Linked DNA regions of Homo sapiens: all the other regions are linked to region 1. Evidence: promoter capture Hi-C in 16 types of primary human blood cells and fetal thymus (Javierre and others, 2016). All regions are on one chromosome and are shown on one strand. The core of a region is centred on a gene start or on the middle of the fragment in contact, and the rest is flanking DNA. Distances in the headings are between cores, read along the strand shown.

The links. Contacts are between HindIII fragments. The CHiCAGO score rates a contact against its expected background, and 5 or more counts as called.
Region 2: a contact is called between a fragment that was not itself captured here and the fragment with the promoter of INSM1 in region 1, in 3 of 17 cell types (M1 macrophages, M0 macrophages and M2 macrophages). The highest score is 6.0, in M1 macrophages.
Region 3: a fragment that was not itself captured here is called in contact with the fragment with the promoter of INSM1 in region 1 in 4 of 17 cell types (megakaryocytes, fetal thymus, M1 macrophages and 1 more); the score reaches 10.7 in megakaryocytes.
Region 4: a fragment that was not itself captured here is called in contact with the fragment with the promoter of INSM1 in region 1 in 1 of 17 cell types (M2 macrophages); the score reaches 5.4 in M2 macrophages.

Annotation. Positions count from the first base shown.
Region 1 is chr20:20,365,970-20,370,057 of GRCh38, reverse strand. INSM1 (INSM transcriptional repressor 1) reads right to left here and starts at 1,954. Exons shown (of 1, transcript NM_002196.3): 1 at 1-1,954. The coding sequence starts at 1,790. The coding sequence ends at 258. RefSeq lists an enhancer at 2,091-2,861. The HindIII fragment of the contact is 3,677 bases long and covers 1-3,612 here.
Region 2 is chr20:20,182,451-20,186,531 of GRCh38, reverse strand. The region is part of intron 13 of CFAP61 (cilia and flagella associated protein 61); the gene reads right to left. Among named protein-coding and RNA genes, the nearest start is that of CFAP61-AS1, 83 kb to the left of the region's middle. The HindIII fragment of the contact is 786 bases long and covers 1,460-2,245 here.
Region 3 is chr20:20,569,670-20,573,562 of GRCh38, reverse strand. It overlaps RALGAPA2 (Ral GTPase activating protein catalytic subunit alpha 2), which reads left to right. Exons shown (of 40, transcript NM_020343.4): 21 at 495-688; 22 at 1,617-1,715; 23 at 1,950-2,105. Among named protein-coding and RNA genes, the nearest start is that of RALGAPA2, 140 kb to the left of the region's middle. The HindIII fragment of the contact is 4,529 bases long and covers 1-3,893 here.
Region 4 is chr20:20,137,219-20,141,212 of GRCh38, reverse strand. All of the region lies in intron 8 of CFAP61 (cilia and flagella associated protein 61), which reads right to left. Among named protein-coding and RNA genes, the nearest start is that of CFAP61, 87 kb to the right of the region's middle. The HindIII fragment of the contact is 573 bases long and covers 1,879-2,451 here.

The DNA.
Region 1 (4,088 bases), core at 705-3,204:
AAAGAGACTGACTCCTGTTGCGCCATGGGGGAGGCGGAGGGACACAACGTAAAAGTGGGGGTTCCAAAAGGAGTCAAAAGGAGAGTATGGGGTTACCGTCACGCCACACCGAGAGAAGCGGAGACGACACTTTCACCCGGTGGGGGCGGGGGCGAGGCTCCCCCAGCGCGGACTCGGGTTCGGGGAGTGCAGGGCGCACTCTCTTTGTGGGTCTCCAAGCGAAGGCACAGTTCGGGGGCCGGGGTGGAGGGCGCGCTCTAGCAGGCCGGGCGCACGGGCACCTGCAGGAGGATCACCTGTCTGTTTTCGGATGGGTGGCACTTGTTGATGTGCCGCGTAAGGCCGGGCGAGCTGTAGAAGGTGGCCGGGCAGTACTTGCAGGGGAACACCTGGGCGGCGTGCAGCAGGCGCAGGTGGCGCTCCTGAGCGCCCTTGCTGGCGAACGACTCTCCGCACACTGGGCACAGGTGGCACTCGGCGGACGCACTCAGGCCCAGCACGCCGGCCCCCTCGCCGTCGCCGGCCGCCTCCTGGGGCGCCTTCTCGTCGGGCCCGGGGTACAAGGCCAGTAGGTCCTCGGCCGGGGGCGCTAGCGGCGCGCCCTTGGCCTGCAGCGCCTGGTGGTGCGCCAGCAGGTGCTTGCGTAGGTAGGCCTGGCGGCGGAACTTCTTGGCGCAGTGATGGCACTCGTAGAGCCCGTCCTCGGAGCCCGACTCGGACACGCCGCCGGGGCTCGGCGTGTCCCGGTCGCTGCCGCCGCCGGGTGCCTCCCGCGCCTCAGCCCTGGCTGCTGCTTCTGGCTCCGGCGCGCGGGCGGCGGCGGGCGCGGGCCGCGGTTTGTGCCAGCGGCGGTGCGAGGCCAGGTTGGCCGGGCAGCTGAAGACCTTGGCGCACTCGGGACAGCGGTACTCCACACGCACGATGCGCGAGCATTTGTGCTGCGCCAGCGCGAACGGGTCGGCGTACTCCTCCTTGCACAGCTGGCAGATGAACTCGCCCAGCGGCCGCGCCGCGCCCCCCGCGCGGCCCCGCGGCGCCTCCACCGGGCCCTCCTTGATCTTGAGCCCCAGCACGGGCGACGTGGTCACCTCGTCCTCGAAGTGCAGCTTGCGGATGGCCTTGGGCTTCTTGGCGCCCGGGGCCTTGACTGCCTTGGCGGGCGGCTCCGCGGCGGTAGGGGGCGGGGGCCGCTTTCCCGGGGGCCGCAGGGCGGCGGCAGGGGGCAGTGGGGGGCCGGGGCCCGGGCCGCGGGCCGCCTCGGCGCCAGCCGAGAACGCCGTGCCCATCTTGAGCTCGGCGGGCGCGAAGAGCAGCGGGTCGCCGCCGCAGGTGCCGCCTCCGCCAGCTCCGCTCGCGCCGCCGCCGCCGCCCCCTCCGAGCAGCGCGGCGGGCGTGGGGAAGGACTCGGCCGAGACCGGCGAGCCCAGGTTGAAGCTGCGTTCGAAGTACTTGTGCTTCTCGTGCTCGCGGCTCACGGGCCGCGTGGGACTGTAGAGCGGCGCGGGGTGCGCAGCCTCGGGGTTGCCGAAGTGCGCGGCCCGCGGGCCCTGCGGGGGTGGCTGCGGCCCAGGCGCGCAGGCAAGCGCGGCGGCGAGCGCTGCATGGGCGCGCTCCGCGGGCGGCGGCGGCGGCAGCGGCCCGGGGACCGGGCTCGGCGCCGGGGGCTCGGCGCGGGCGCCCCCGCAGCTGGGCGAGAGCAGCAGTGCGCGGTCGCCGTCCTCGCCGCCGCGGACCCGGTAGGAAACGGGCGTGGACTTCTTGCTGCGCTTCACCAGGAAGCCGCGGGGCATGTTGGCGCGGCCCGAGGGCACGGCACTGGCTCGGTCCCCCCTCCGCGCTCGGCCCCGGCGGCCCTCAGTGCCCCCGGCCCATTGCCCGGGCGCGGCGGCTGCGGGACTCGCGTGGCGCCGGCGACGGCTCGGCCCAGCTCTGCGCCCTGCACGCGCGTCCCTGTCCCCGGGCCCGGCAGCCGCTCCCTTTTAACGGGGGGAGGGGGCCATTGTTCTCGCCTCCCGCTTCCCCTGGAGCCAATCAGCGCGTCCGCAGCTCCTCAGCCTGGCAGGGTGGGAGGGCGATGGGGCGGCCAAAAGGGGGCCGGGACTCGGGGGTCGCCCGGTAGGTGCGGCAGATGTACCTGAGGGCGCGGGGCCCCCGCGCGCGCCCCTGGTCGCCCCGCCCGGCGCCGCCGCCCCGCCCGGTCCAGGCACACGCCCGGCCCCGCCTCCCTTCACGGTCTGCTGCTTCTCTATGGGGAGGCGCACGTGCCTGGGCTTTGTGTCTCTCCTCCGGGGGGCGCGGAGCCGCCAAATGGGCCCGTCCATCAGCGCGACAATGCACGCCCCCCTCCCGCGCGGGGATTACCCGCGGGTCGCTAGCAAAATAGCAACAAAGGAGAAGAATGGCCCCAAATATGTCAGGAGGGTTCAATCCGCGAGCCGGAGCCGAGGGGGAAGTTGTGCGCGCTGATTGGGTGGGGGCGGGGGCGCGCCGGGGCGGTGCGGGGGAGATCGTTGCGGAGGCGCAGTGGCTCCGCGTGGTGTTTGGGAAATAAACAAGAATCCGAGAGAGCAGCAGGGTCCGGACGGCCTCCGCCCGGACCTTGGACGGATGGGCCGCTGGACCCAAGAGGCCAAGCAAAAGGGTTCCCCGGGGTTCCAAGTGTGGACAGGGGGCCCGGCCTTCTGGCAGTGGCCGAGGGCGATGTTTGTGCTCGCAGCCTCCGCGCGCCCACGGGGCTAGAGAAGGTTTCTTTCGAGTTTGAGAAGGAATTGGCACGGCCTTCTCAGTCTCCCGAAAGCGCGGGATTGGAGCGCGGGCGGGCTGGGCTGGGTTCCCAGAGGAACGTGAATTTCTGAACTTTTGGGTTCTTGGAGGCTTGGGAATGGCATCTTTGGCGGGGCCCGACCCAGGCCGCCCGGAGCTTCCGCGTGGTCCAAGGCTCGGTTAATCCGGGTCGAGTTGGCCGAAGCCCGAAACGCGCGGTCGGCCTCGTGCGCCCCAGTGAAGTTGGCTTTCTCCTCCCCGCGCGGCCTCATGCATTTTCATTCCGAGCGGGCATTTTGTTTGCCGGTTGACATCAGATGCTAAATCAAGGGCTCCAATCAAGGCGCTGCGAAATAAAGGGGCTGCCTGTCTGGGCGCAGCCCCCACGGAGCCGTGCCCCCTTCACCTTTGTGAAGGAAATTAACCTCCTGCTATTGAGCTCCGGTCGCGGCCAATCTGGACGCAAAAGAGACGCGTGCTGGACGGGGGGAGGGGGGGCAATCTGTACTCTGAGGCAGGCTGAGGCCTCCGAGAGGACAAGCCGCCTCCCCTGTGCCACCAGGAAGAGACAACAGCGAAGATTCCCCCCGCCCCCACCCCCACCCCCACCTCCGCTGCCGTTCCGTTTGGACCCAGACTGGGCCGCCTGCCTCCATCCTCTGTCCAGCCCAGCCCCGAGGAAACACAAAAGGCAGAATCTTCGGGGGACAGGGCAGAGAACCCCACGAGTGCGTAGTGGCCCTGATCGTCCAACACTGGGGAACAAATAGCCAAGCCACATAAAATGTCATATGCTGTGAGGAAAATGTCACTTTATTGAAAGAGAAGGAAACATTTTTCTGCAAAGCTTTGTATACCAGACAGATTTTGCTGAGTTTTACTTACGCTTAATTCCACTGAAGGTATTTAATTGTTTTGGATTTTCCCTCTGAAAATACCCTGGCGTAGAAATTAAACATGTAAAAATAGAGTCCACATGAGTCATAAGTTGTGATGGGGACAGTTGTTAGGCTTAATTAATTAAGGGGTTAATCAGGTTGGTTAATCAAGGGAAAGATATTTGATAATTTTATGTTTGTAATATTTTAACTCACACACTGAAAAGGGAAGAATGCATATAGTGAAATATATTTTGAAAAGTCTCACCCTAGTTTTAAAAATGCTGTGGTGAGTGCTAGTCTCCCCAAAAGTTAGAAATCTTAAAATGAGTTTATCTAAAATTTATAAACATATTTCTATCTAAAAGTAACTGATGTTATTTCCTTGCTCTTTTGAGCTCTGATTAATAGTGCTGATGAAATTAGAAGTGGGAAAAGGATTCCGAG
Region 2 (4,081 bases), core at 603-3,102, 180 kb after region 1:
AATACTCAAGCGAATTAAAAACATATGTCCACACAAAACCTGTACATGAATTTTCATAGCAGCATTATTCACAATAGCCCAAGAAAAAACAACCCAAATGCCCATCAATTGATGAATGGATAAACAGAGTATGATTGATACATACAACAGAACACTATTCAGCCATAAAAGAAAATAAAGTACTGATGCATACTCCAACATGCATGAACTTTAAAAACATTGTGCGAAGTGAGAGAAACCATATACAAAAGGCCACGTGTTGTGTAATTCCATTTATATGAAATGTCCAGAATAGGCAAATTTACAATGATAGAAAGTGGGTTAGTGATTGTTGGGGGCTGAGGGGAGAAGAGAATGGGAGTGACAGCTTGACAGGTACAGGGTGTCCTCTGGGTGATGCAAATGTTTTAGAACCAGATAGACGTGGTAACTGCACAATGCTGTAACTCTACTACAAACCATTGAATTGTACACTTGAAGTGGACAAATTGTATGGCATGTGAATTACATCTCAATAAAGCTGTTACAAAAATATATGTAATGCCAAAATAATTGAAAGGAAAAGGGAATGGCAACTAATAGCAAAAAAATAAGCTGGCATAGCTATATAAATATCAGCTAAACCAGATCTTAAGGCAAAAATCATGAGAAAAAGGTCTTTATTTGATAATAAAAGTTCACTAGGAAGATATAACAATACCATATGTATAGGTGTCTAACAATAAAGCTCCAGGATACTGAAGTAAAAATGGACAGGGTTATGAGAAGAGTTTGAAATTCACCATCATATTGGTAGAGTTTAATATGCCTCTCTCAGAAACTGGTGTCAGACAACACATTTAAGATACTGTGGAAGATATGGATAAACTTAAGCTAAAGTACACTACATCCCCCAAATGAAAAAGACATGGCCATCTAAGAGTCGTCTCACTGTTTCCATTCCAAAGCCCTCCACCCAGCTGTCTTTCCTGTCTTAGGTAATGGCAACTCCATCCTTCCAGTGGTTCAGGCCCAGACCTTTGGCCTCATCTGTTTTCTTGCACACCTCTCTTTCAGCCTAACTTTGGGCTGGCTCTGCTTTCAAAATGCATCTAAGAATGGAACGACTTCTCAAGACCTCCAGTGCTAGTCCAGCCTCCACCACCTCTCTCCTGGGTTGCTGGAACAGCATACTAGTGTCTCTCCACATTTCTGCCATTGTTCCTGACAAGCCATCCTCCACCAATTTGCCAGAGCAATGCTTATCAAATGTTAAGTCAGATCACAAGACTCTTATACTCAAATTCCCAGTAATAGAGGTGTTCTTAACCTCTTTTATGTGTATGGCCCCTCTCAGAATATTTTTAAATGCATAAAGTAAGATACATAAGATTACAATATACGAGCTTCATTAAACAAACATGATTCAGCAGGGAGTCTAATAATTACCATAATTTTGCTACATTTACGAGCATAAGCTTGCACTCCCAGTAAAAGCCAAAGTTCTACAGTGGCTGAGAGCCCCCTCTCCAACTCTCCATGACCACAGCCTCCTTCCCCGTGCCCTCCCTCTGGGATTGCTGCTTGCTCTGACTCATCTCCAAATAGTTGGCTTCTTGGTTTCCCTGCTCTGCTGCACAGGCCACTATGCTGTTCCTCAAACATGCCAGACATAGTCCCTCATCAGAGGTTCCCACTTGAGGAAGTTCCTACCTCATCAGAAGGTCCTACTTCATCAGAAGTTCTTATGTCATCAGAAGTTCCTATCTCATCAGAAGGTGCTACCTTATCAGAATTCCCTACCTGAGGAAGTTCCTACCTCATCAGAAGTTCCTGCCTCATCAGAAGTTCTTACCTCATCAGAAGTTCCTACCTGAGGAAGTTCCTACCTCATCAGAAGTTACCTCATCAGAAGTTCCTACCTGTAATTCTCCTCCAGCAAATCTATGAGCCTGTTCCATCACCTCAACATTGAGTCTTTGCTGAAACTTCACCCTCTCAGTGACGCCCTCCCTGACCCTGACCCCCTATTTAAAATTTGGACCCTGACCTTCCATCCTCATTCCCTGTTCTATTTTTCTCCACAGCACTTCCTACTTTCTCTTTATTTTGTTTTTCACTGTTTGTCTCCTCCCACTAGAATAAAATTTGACAAAGATGGCAGTGTTGGTCTATTTGCTCACTGCTGCCACCTCATGGCTAGAGCAATGCCTGGCACATGGTAGATGCTCAATAAACAGCTGTCAAGTGAACTAATCATGAAGCTTGCATGGAGATAGCCAGAGAGCTTCCCCATGCTTATTACATGTTTTTTTACATATAATAAATACTACAACTGAGTTATAAAGAGTGTTGTTGGATACTGGACTGGAAAGTGAGAATAAGTGGACATCTTCCCCCAGCAAGGCTTGAAGCTCAGACCATATCATGGTCCACTCTAAAAGACCAGGGCTTTTTGTAGCCTACAGTGGTGCCCAATAAATGTTCAGTAGGACATGGGGTTATCTTCCTGCAAAGTAGCACAAAACTGCAAACATCGTTTCACCAGTCTGTCCATGGAAATCTACTGTTGATCAGGGGTCACAACCATTTTGCATTCATCTCTGCTATTCATATTCACCAAAGAGGAATATTTCAGAGCTTTCCTTTGTTCCTAGAATTTCAGGGGGAGGAACGGGCTATGGCTGTATGTTTGTGCCCTCCTCTAAAATGACACTGTCCAGTACAAGAGCCTGTACACTTGAAATGTGGTACTCAGAATTGAGATGTGCTGTAAGAATAAAATATCCACTGAATTGTGGACTTGGTACAAAAAAGTAACATAAAGTATCTCATTCGTGCTTTTTAAATATTGATTACACGCTGAAACAATAATATTTTGGATATAATGGGTTAAATAAGAAATAAATGTTACAATTAATTTCACCTACTTTTTGATTTTTAAATTAATGTGGCTATTCAAAAATCTAAAATTACACATGTGGCTCACAGCGTATTCCTACTGAATGGGGCTGCTCTCTATGTCTGTATTTGCCTCTGAGAACTATTTCCCAAAAGGTTTTTACTCAGCTCAAAAAGCAGAATGTAGGCTGGCTGGGTGAGGTGGCTCACACCTGTAATCCCAGCACTTTGGGAGGCCAAGGCAGGAGGATCACTTGAGACCAGGAGTTCAAGACCAGCCCAGCTGACATGGTGAAACTCCATCTCTACTAAAAATACAAAAATTAGCCGTGCATGGTGGCTCATGCCTGTAATCCCAGCTACTTGGTTGGCCAAGGCACTAGAATCACTTGAACCCAGAACCCAGGAGGCAGAGGTTGCAGTGAGTCGAAGTCGTGCCACTGCACTCCAGCCTGGGCAAAACAGTGAGACTCTATCTAAAAAAAAAAAAAAAGAAAAGAAAAGAAAAAAAAATCAGAAGGTAAGTCTTATTCCACATGTGACCTTTTTTTGGCAGACTCTGAGGCAAGGTGGCTCTATATATACTATTCCTTCCACACTGGGTGCTGAGAACAGCAGCCTGTTTGTTTTCGCTTTAACTAGAATGAGATGTGGGGAACCTGAGGAGGAGGTGATCTAGCTCCTTCCTTTTCTGGATAAAGGGTGGAAGAGGTGTGGATTCTTTACTTAGTGTGTTCTGATAGCCATGTGTCACTATGCACTTGTTCTTTGTGTCTTCACATCTCCTCCTGTTGCATTTTAAAGCATTTTCACAGTATGTGGTTTTGCCTAATAAAGCATTCTCATAGCAAACAAACAAACAAACAAAAATGGGACACATACTTGTTGCTACAAGGGTATTTCCTTTACAAAGGAAATTGCTTTTAATTGCTTCTACATAGCAATTGGCAGGAAAAAGTGAAAAATGAATAAATGTAAGAAATAAACTCTCAATTAAGACATATTTCCTTAAAATCAATGATTAAAATGGATTAAGAATCATTCATTCACTCCATCACAAATATTTATTAAACATCTGCTGTGTGCCCGTGTTTTGGGTGCTGGGGATACATCAGGGAACCAGACAGTCCACAATTTCTGCTCTCGTGAAGCTGAACTGCTATTGACTCCAGACCATATTTTGAGAAATAATTCTGCAATT
Region 3 (3,893 bases), core at 672-3,171, 200 kb before region 1:
ATATTTCAATTATGGTGGCAGTTTATGGCAACAGTTGCATGAACGTATACATTCCTTAAAACTCCTTAAACCTGAAAGGGATGGAAATTTCTTGTATGCACATTTCACCCCCATGAACCTGACCTAACAACAACCACCGCAGATGTTACTCCAGCATTGAGGCTTCCCTGGCCACCCATTTCCATGGCACTGTTTCCCACCCATCCTGCTCAAGGGTCTCCCTCTTCCTCTCCCCTGATCTATAAAACCCATCACAGGGTCTCCAGGAACTGTTATGTCATGTCTTAGCTTGTTGCTCTTTTAGTTTGAAGAATCAAAATCATTTGACCTTTCTTCCTTGATCCTGCTTTTCTCTCCTTTTAAATTCTCAGCTGTTTCACATTTTTTGCCTTAATTATTTTACTTTGAATACCTAAGGTAATTTGCCTTAAAGAAAAAAGGTATGATGAAATCAAGATTGTTTACAGGGTTAACAGACATGTTTTTCTGCATAGATAGCAGCGAGTGCCTCACAGATGACTGTAGTATAATCGCCGGGGGGAGCCTCACTGGTTGGCACCCAGACTCTGCTGCTGTGTTATGGCGAAGGGTCTTGGGGATCCTCGGAGATGTGAATAACATCCAGTCACCCAAGATCCATGCCAGAGTTTTCTGCTATCTCTATGAACTCTGGTACAAACTAGCAAAGGTAAGTTCTGCTATGTTACTTTTTATTCTAATCCAGGAAAATGGTCTTATCATTTAATGTAAAAACTGTGTTTCAGTTAACTACTGAACATATTCCGAAACACAAATGGTACATTTAGACAAAGTCCATTTGATTATCAAAGAATAATCATATATAACATGACTATTTTATAAATGCAAAAGTTATTTCATTTAGTGCAAAAGTAGAATATTGCTATAGGATATTAAATACAGGATGTTAAGTCATTCTAGTTACTCTCTTTATAAAAGTGATATTGGTTGTATTGTATACAATTTGAAAAATGTAGAAAAATACAAAGAAGAAAATTAACATCAGTATTCATAGAAATAGCCAATATTAATATATAGTCTTCTTTCTTTTTATGAAAGTAGAATCTTAGAGTACATACAAGTTTTTTTTTTTTTTTTGAAATGGAGTCTTGCTTGCCCTGTCGCCCAGGCTGGAGTGCAGTGGCGCCATCTTGGCTCACTGCAACCCTCTGCCTCCTGGGTTCAAGCAATTCTCCTGCTTTAGCCTCCTGAGTAGTACATACAATTTTTATTCTGATTTTTGTTTGGGTTCTGACATTCACATGTATTAAATTTTTTTTTCAAAAACATGGTTCATGTTTGTTCAGTATAACTCATTAAAATGTTACTTATCGTTTGGAATTCAGGACCTCCCCAGCCATTAACGTTCAAGGAAAAACAATGCCTTTGTTTTGTATATAAATCTAAAACCACATACAGTAAGCCAAACATGTAATTCAAAAGGATAATTTCACAATAAAAGAGAAACTTGTAAATATTACAGGTTTTCACTTATAGAAATTAACTGAAAGCAGCTATATGGTCACAGAAGACTGTTGAAATACTGTTGGGATAAACGTAATGTTACCTACCCTAAAATTCTCCTCTTTGTGAATTAGATACGGGATAATCTAGCAATAAGCCTGGATAACCAGTCTTCTCCATCTCCTCCAGTTTTGATCCCACCACTCAGAATGTTTGCATCATGGCTGTTTAAGGCAAGTGGATATGTGTTTATTCCTTTATTGCGATTTCCTCTTCCTTTCTGAAATTGAGTTTGAAAAATGTAATTGCCCAAGACTGCATGTTTTGAAGACAGGCTGGGTCTTACTAAAGTAACTGCATCCCACATGTCCATAAACAACTCTTAAGGAAAACTGAGAAGTAAATGAAATGTTGAAATACTCTGCACCTGGGCTTGATTTAATCTGGAAACATCATCTCCTTGACAGGCGGCGACACTGCCAAATGAATATAAGGAAGGCAAACTACAAGCCTACAGGCTGATCTGTGCCATGATGACCAGACGCCAGGACGTTCTGCCAAACTCAGATTTCCTGGTGCATTTTTACCTTGTGATGCACCTGGGATTAACCAGCGAGGATCAGGTATTCTGCGACTCCTTTATTGTGATTGCCCATTAATTGGAAATAGCATATCACTCTTTAAAGACATTAGTAATATTTATGAAAATACATCAGAAGTGTTGAATTTCTCAGTAGTTTCAACTCTTTTACACACAGCAAGCACAATGGTCTTTCAAAAATGTAAATCAGGTTTCACATCCCTGCTTCTTCTCCCCACTGACTTTGCATTTGCATTGTGCCAACCAAATTTTAATTTTATTCTATGGCCTCTATGATCTAACCTCTGCCTGTGTTGTCAACCTCAAAATACTATTATAACCACTTTTTGTTTGGGTTCTGCATTAAATATGGTTTGAAGAAAGTGGTACTGATCATTTAAAAATGTTTGAAAATTGTTGTTTTAGTAGTTAGGATGTTTTTGTGAAAGACTTTACCTGTAAGATAGAAGATGAGTCCAGACATTTCTTGATAAGGAGTTATTTTAATTTCTCCCAATGCAATTTAAGTTTGGTTCAAGTTCGAACAGAAAGGCCCAAGGAGCCACTAGCTACCTCTTCCTCCTTGTAGGCCCTAGGTTTGGGAGATAGGGTGTGGCCAGACCCTGACCTTCCTCCCTTGGGAAGACTTCTGCCAGTTGAGGGAGATTACGGATAGGGACACATGGATTCTTGACTTGATTTGGGATATCAAGCAGGCAAGTGATGTGATTGATTTATGCTTCACAGAGATTCTGGACTGCATTTGGAAGATGGATTTGAAAATGTGATAGTAGGATAGAATCAGAGATTGGCCTGTAGATGGAGAACAATTAGGAAGTGTTTAATACAGATTTTAAAAAAATGATAAGAACTAAGCCGGTAGCATTGGGGATGGAAAGAAAGGAATAGAAAAGATTCAATAAATTTTAAGACATTTCATTTTATTACTAGGTTTTCTTAACCAATATAGAGGTATAGGGAGTGTTTGAGATTTACCCTTTAAATTGTAAATACTTATTAATGAACTTGAATCATTTATTAACTATCAAGTAACTGTCCTTTCTGCATTTTTTGTATTCGTTGAAGGTATGATGCAGACACACAGACCTTTTGATACCTCAGGGTACATGTAAGAAGTTATTCTCCTGATAAGCAAACTTTTTTTGTTGCTTTAGAATGTACTTGAATTTAAATAGTTTGCAGTATGTATTTCCCAATACTTACTTTGAGCTTTAAAAATCATTGAACTCTTATATGAAATAATAACCATACTGTCCTAGTGAGTAGTCTGTCATATTCATTGTGATTTTAGCAGTGTATAGAGGACATCCATGTAGCAGGCTGGCTTAGTCCCATAATCTCATTTATTTCCTAGATAAATGTAGAAATAGGAACACAAAGTAGAATTGTTTGTACTCCCTGCTCAAATATTTTACAGGCATCATTGCAAGTGGAAGCATCTTTTACAGAATGATGCAACTCAGGGTATGTGGAGGATTATGGGGTATAGAAAAGACAATTAACTCTCAGATAATAATGAACTCCTTCAGTGAAAGAAACAAAAGAGGAAGGTTTACTTAACAATACCCTACTTTAAAGAAGCCTTATGCTAATATTTTGCAGGAAAAAAAATTTACTTGGAAATAATAATCAACTATAGATCCTTCTCATTTTATAAAAACAAGTAAGTTAGCAGTAAACAATGTTCCTTAGAATGAATTTTTTAGAAAGTCACATAAATGAGTTTAGAATTGTCTTTCTATTTTAAGATGTGTTGATGTGGAAATGAAACAGTAAAATGAGATGAAATAAGAGTATATTATATAACATT
Region 4 (3,994 bases), core at 916-3,415, 230 kb after region 1:
ACAGTAGCTCACACCTGTAATCCCAGCACTTTGGGAGGCCAAGGGAGTTGGATCACCTGAGGTCAGGAGTTCAAGACCAGCCTGACCAACATGATGAAACTTCGTCTCTACTTAAAATACAAAAAACATAGCCGGGCATGGTGGTGCACACCTGTAATCCCAGCTACTCAGGAGAGGCAGGAGAATCACTTGAACCTGGGAGGCGGAGGTTGCAGTGAGTCAAGATTGTGCCACTGCACTATAGCCTAGATGACAGAGTGAGACTCCATCTCCAAAAACAAAAAAAAAAAAAGGAAAAAAAAAGAACATATAAAACATTTCCTTTTTTATGGCTGCATAGTATTCCATGGTGTATATGTGCCACATTTTCTTAATCCAGTCTATCATTGTTGGACATTTGGGTTGGTTCCAAGTCTTTGCTATTGTGAATAGTGCCGCAATAAGCATACGTGTGCATGTGTCTTTATAGCAGCATGATTATAGTCCTTTGGGTATATACCCAGTAATGGGATGGCTGGGTCAAATGGTATTTCTAGTTCTAGATCCCTGAGGAATTGCCACACTGACTTCCACAATGGTTGAACTAGTTTATAGTCCCATCAACAGTGTAAAAGTGTTCATATTTCTCCACATCCTCTCCAGCACCTGTTGTTTCCTGACTTTTTAATGATTGCCATAAAAAAGGATGAGTTCATGTCCTTTGTAGGGACATGGATGAAATTGGAAATCATCATTCTCAGTAAACTATCGCAAGGACAAAAAAACCAAACACCGCATGTTCTCACTCATAGGTGGGAAATGAACAATGAGAACACATGGACACAGGAAGGGGAACATCACACTCTGGGGACTGTTGTGGGGTGGGGGGAGGTGGGAGGGATAGCATTAGGAGATATACCTAATGCTAAATGACGAGTTAATGGGTGCAGCACACCAGCATGGCATATGTATACATATGTAACAAACCTGCACATTGTGCACATGTACCCTAAAACTTAAAGTATAATAATAATAAAATAAAAAATAAAAAATTTTTTAAAAAATGCAACAAGACAGCACTAAAAAAAAAAAAAAAAAAAAAAAATTTCCAGCACCCAGAGGTTCCCCTCATCTCCCCGTCCAGTCAATACTCCTCTCAAAGGTATCCACTCTTCCAACTTTTACTATCATTGATTACTTTTGATCAGCAGAAAACTTGTGAATTAAAAAAACCTCATTATCAGTAACTACCTATTTTAATGTATTACAAAGATATTTCTTTCCTATTTTAAGTTTGAAGAACTACAAAAAATGCAACTAAAAGTAGACATTCACTGTGCATGCTTCTTTTATAATTAGGAAAATATTACAAAAAAGTAAAAAGTCTTAAAGACTGGATTAGATTTTCAGTAAACTAATAATCCTGGTGACTTAACTGTCAATGGTCTAATGTTCATGAGACAGTTACCAACTACAAAGACTAATTGCTTGACTAAACTGTCGTGAGGTGTTGCAGTTTATTACTAAGCAGCTGCCACGTTCATCCCTAGAGGTGACTGCATTTCAGAACTGGGCAAGGTGAAGCTGGATCTCTCTCTCCAGTGTCTCTGGGGTCTTGCGAGGTTTAATTACTTAATGTTCATAATGTCCCCTGAGATCCTCAAATAAGAGGTGCTATCCTGGGGAAAGCTGAGGCAGTGGTATTGTGTAACACATGACTAAAAATACAACTGAAGCTGCGCGATTTAATTGTTATTTTATGGCTTATACCATCTAAGTAGTTTAGAAGTCATGAACTATTGGTTTACTCTAGTGGGAGTAAAGGCACAATTTGTCAGGACTTTCTCTCTAAGTGAGACTGCTTATCTGAAGCGGGTTTACCATGAAGCTAATAAAGCTTAGAGGTTCAGGCATCTTCCCAGCACAGGCTCCGCCAAGGCACAGCATCTAATGCCACATTCATCATTTTGCATTACTCTCCTTAAAAAGGGCTCTTGAATGGGTCAGACTTTAGGTCCCACAAGACTCTGGATCTACCCCGCTCTTTATCTAATAGGAATAATACATACGGAGTGCAAAATAATACATGTTGAGGGCTTCAGGAATAAATAATAATATAATTTTGTGCTTTTTACATTTATTTTAAATATCCATCAAAAATCTTAATTTTTGTGTGATGAAATAAATTGATTCTAAAAGAGCAAATATGGAGAAACAGTAAACAAAAATTTAAGAAAGATGAACAAAAAGAGAGCCAAATTCCCAACTGAATATTAAGACATTATAAAGACATAGTTATTAAAACAGAGAGTTACTGGGGCAAGAATAGAACAGAATGAAGGCCAGAAATAGACACAGACAGTTATGAAATGTTGATATATGATGAAGATGGCATTTCAAGTTAGGGGGAAAGAACAAACTGTACAATAAATAGTGCTAGAGGAAGTGAAGCAAAATGATCAAATAGAAGCTTCCACCAATCATCCTCCCCACAGGAACACAAAATTTAACAATTATGTACACAACAAAGCACCTTCATAAGAACCAAAAATCAGGGGAGTGATCACACTATCTGGTTTTAACTTCATATCACTGAAAGAGGCACTGAAGAGGGCAGGAAAGACAGTCTTGAATTGCCAACACTAACCTTTCCCCATTCCCCTGGCAGTAGCCACGTGGCGTGGAAAATCTGTACACTTGGGGAGAGAAAGTGCAGTGACTGTGGGACTTTGCAATGGAATGCAGTGCTGTCAACACCAGGCAGAACTCAGCTGGCACCCCAAGAGGGAGCATTTGCATCAGCCCTAGCCAGATGGGAATCACCCATCCTGCTGGTTGGAACCTGAGTTCTGGCAAGCCGTGCCACCACAGGCAAAAGTGCTCTGGGGTCCTAAATAAACTTGAAAGGCTGTCTAGGCCACGAGGACTGAGCTACCGGACTTAGGGGACATGCGAGCTAGTAAAACACCAGCTGGATCTGCTAAAAGAGTGCTTGCGTTACCCCTCCCCTAATCCCAGGCACCGCATCTCACAGCTCCAAAAGAGACTCCGACTCCTTCCTTCCACTTGAAAAGAGGAGAGGGGAGTGAAGAGGACTTTGTCTTGTAACTTGGATCCCAGCTCAGCCACAGTTGGATAGGGCACCTGGCAGAGTCACAAGGTCCCTATTCCAGGCCCTGGCTCCTGGATGACATTCCTAGACACACCCTGGACTGGAAGGGAAGCTGCTGCCTTGACATGAAGGACCCAGTCCTAGTAGGATTCATCATGTGGTGACTAAAGAGCCCCTGGGCCCTGAATAATCAGCAGCAGTAGCCAGGTAGTACTCGCCATGGGCCTTGGGTGAGACTAAGAGCTGTGCTGACTTCAGGTGTGACCGGCACATTCTCAGCTGTAGTGGCTACGAGAAGAGACCACTTCTGCTTCAGAAAAGCAGAGGAAAGAGTAAAGGGGACTTTGTCTTGAGCTTAGGTGTCAGCTTGGCCACAGTGGGGAAGAGCACCAAACAGGCTCTTAGGGTCCCCAGTTCCAGGCTTTGGCTCTTGAATGGCATCTCTGGACCTACTATAGGCCAGTGGAAGAGCCCACTGCCCTGAAGGATGAGTCCCAGGCCTGAAAGCATTCACCACAAGCTGACAGAAGAGCCCTTGGGCCTTTAGTGAACATCAGTAGTACCCTGGTAGTACTCCCTGTGGGCCTGTGGTGGTGGTGGACATGGGGAGAGACTCCTTTGCATGGGAAAAACGGAGGGAAGAGCGGAAAGTACTTTGCCTAGTGCTGTCACAGTCAGGCCAGCTGCAGTAGAACAGAGCACCAGATAGATTTCTAAGGTTTCCTACTCCTGGCTCTGGCTCCCAGACAGCATCTCTGGACCTCTGTAGGGCCAGGGGAACTTGTTGCCCTTAAGGGAAGGACATAGGCCTGGATGGCTTCATCACCTGCTGATTGCAGAGCCCTAGGGCCTTGAGAGAATGTAGGTAGTGGTTACAGTGGGCCTTGGGCAAGACCCATGGCT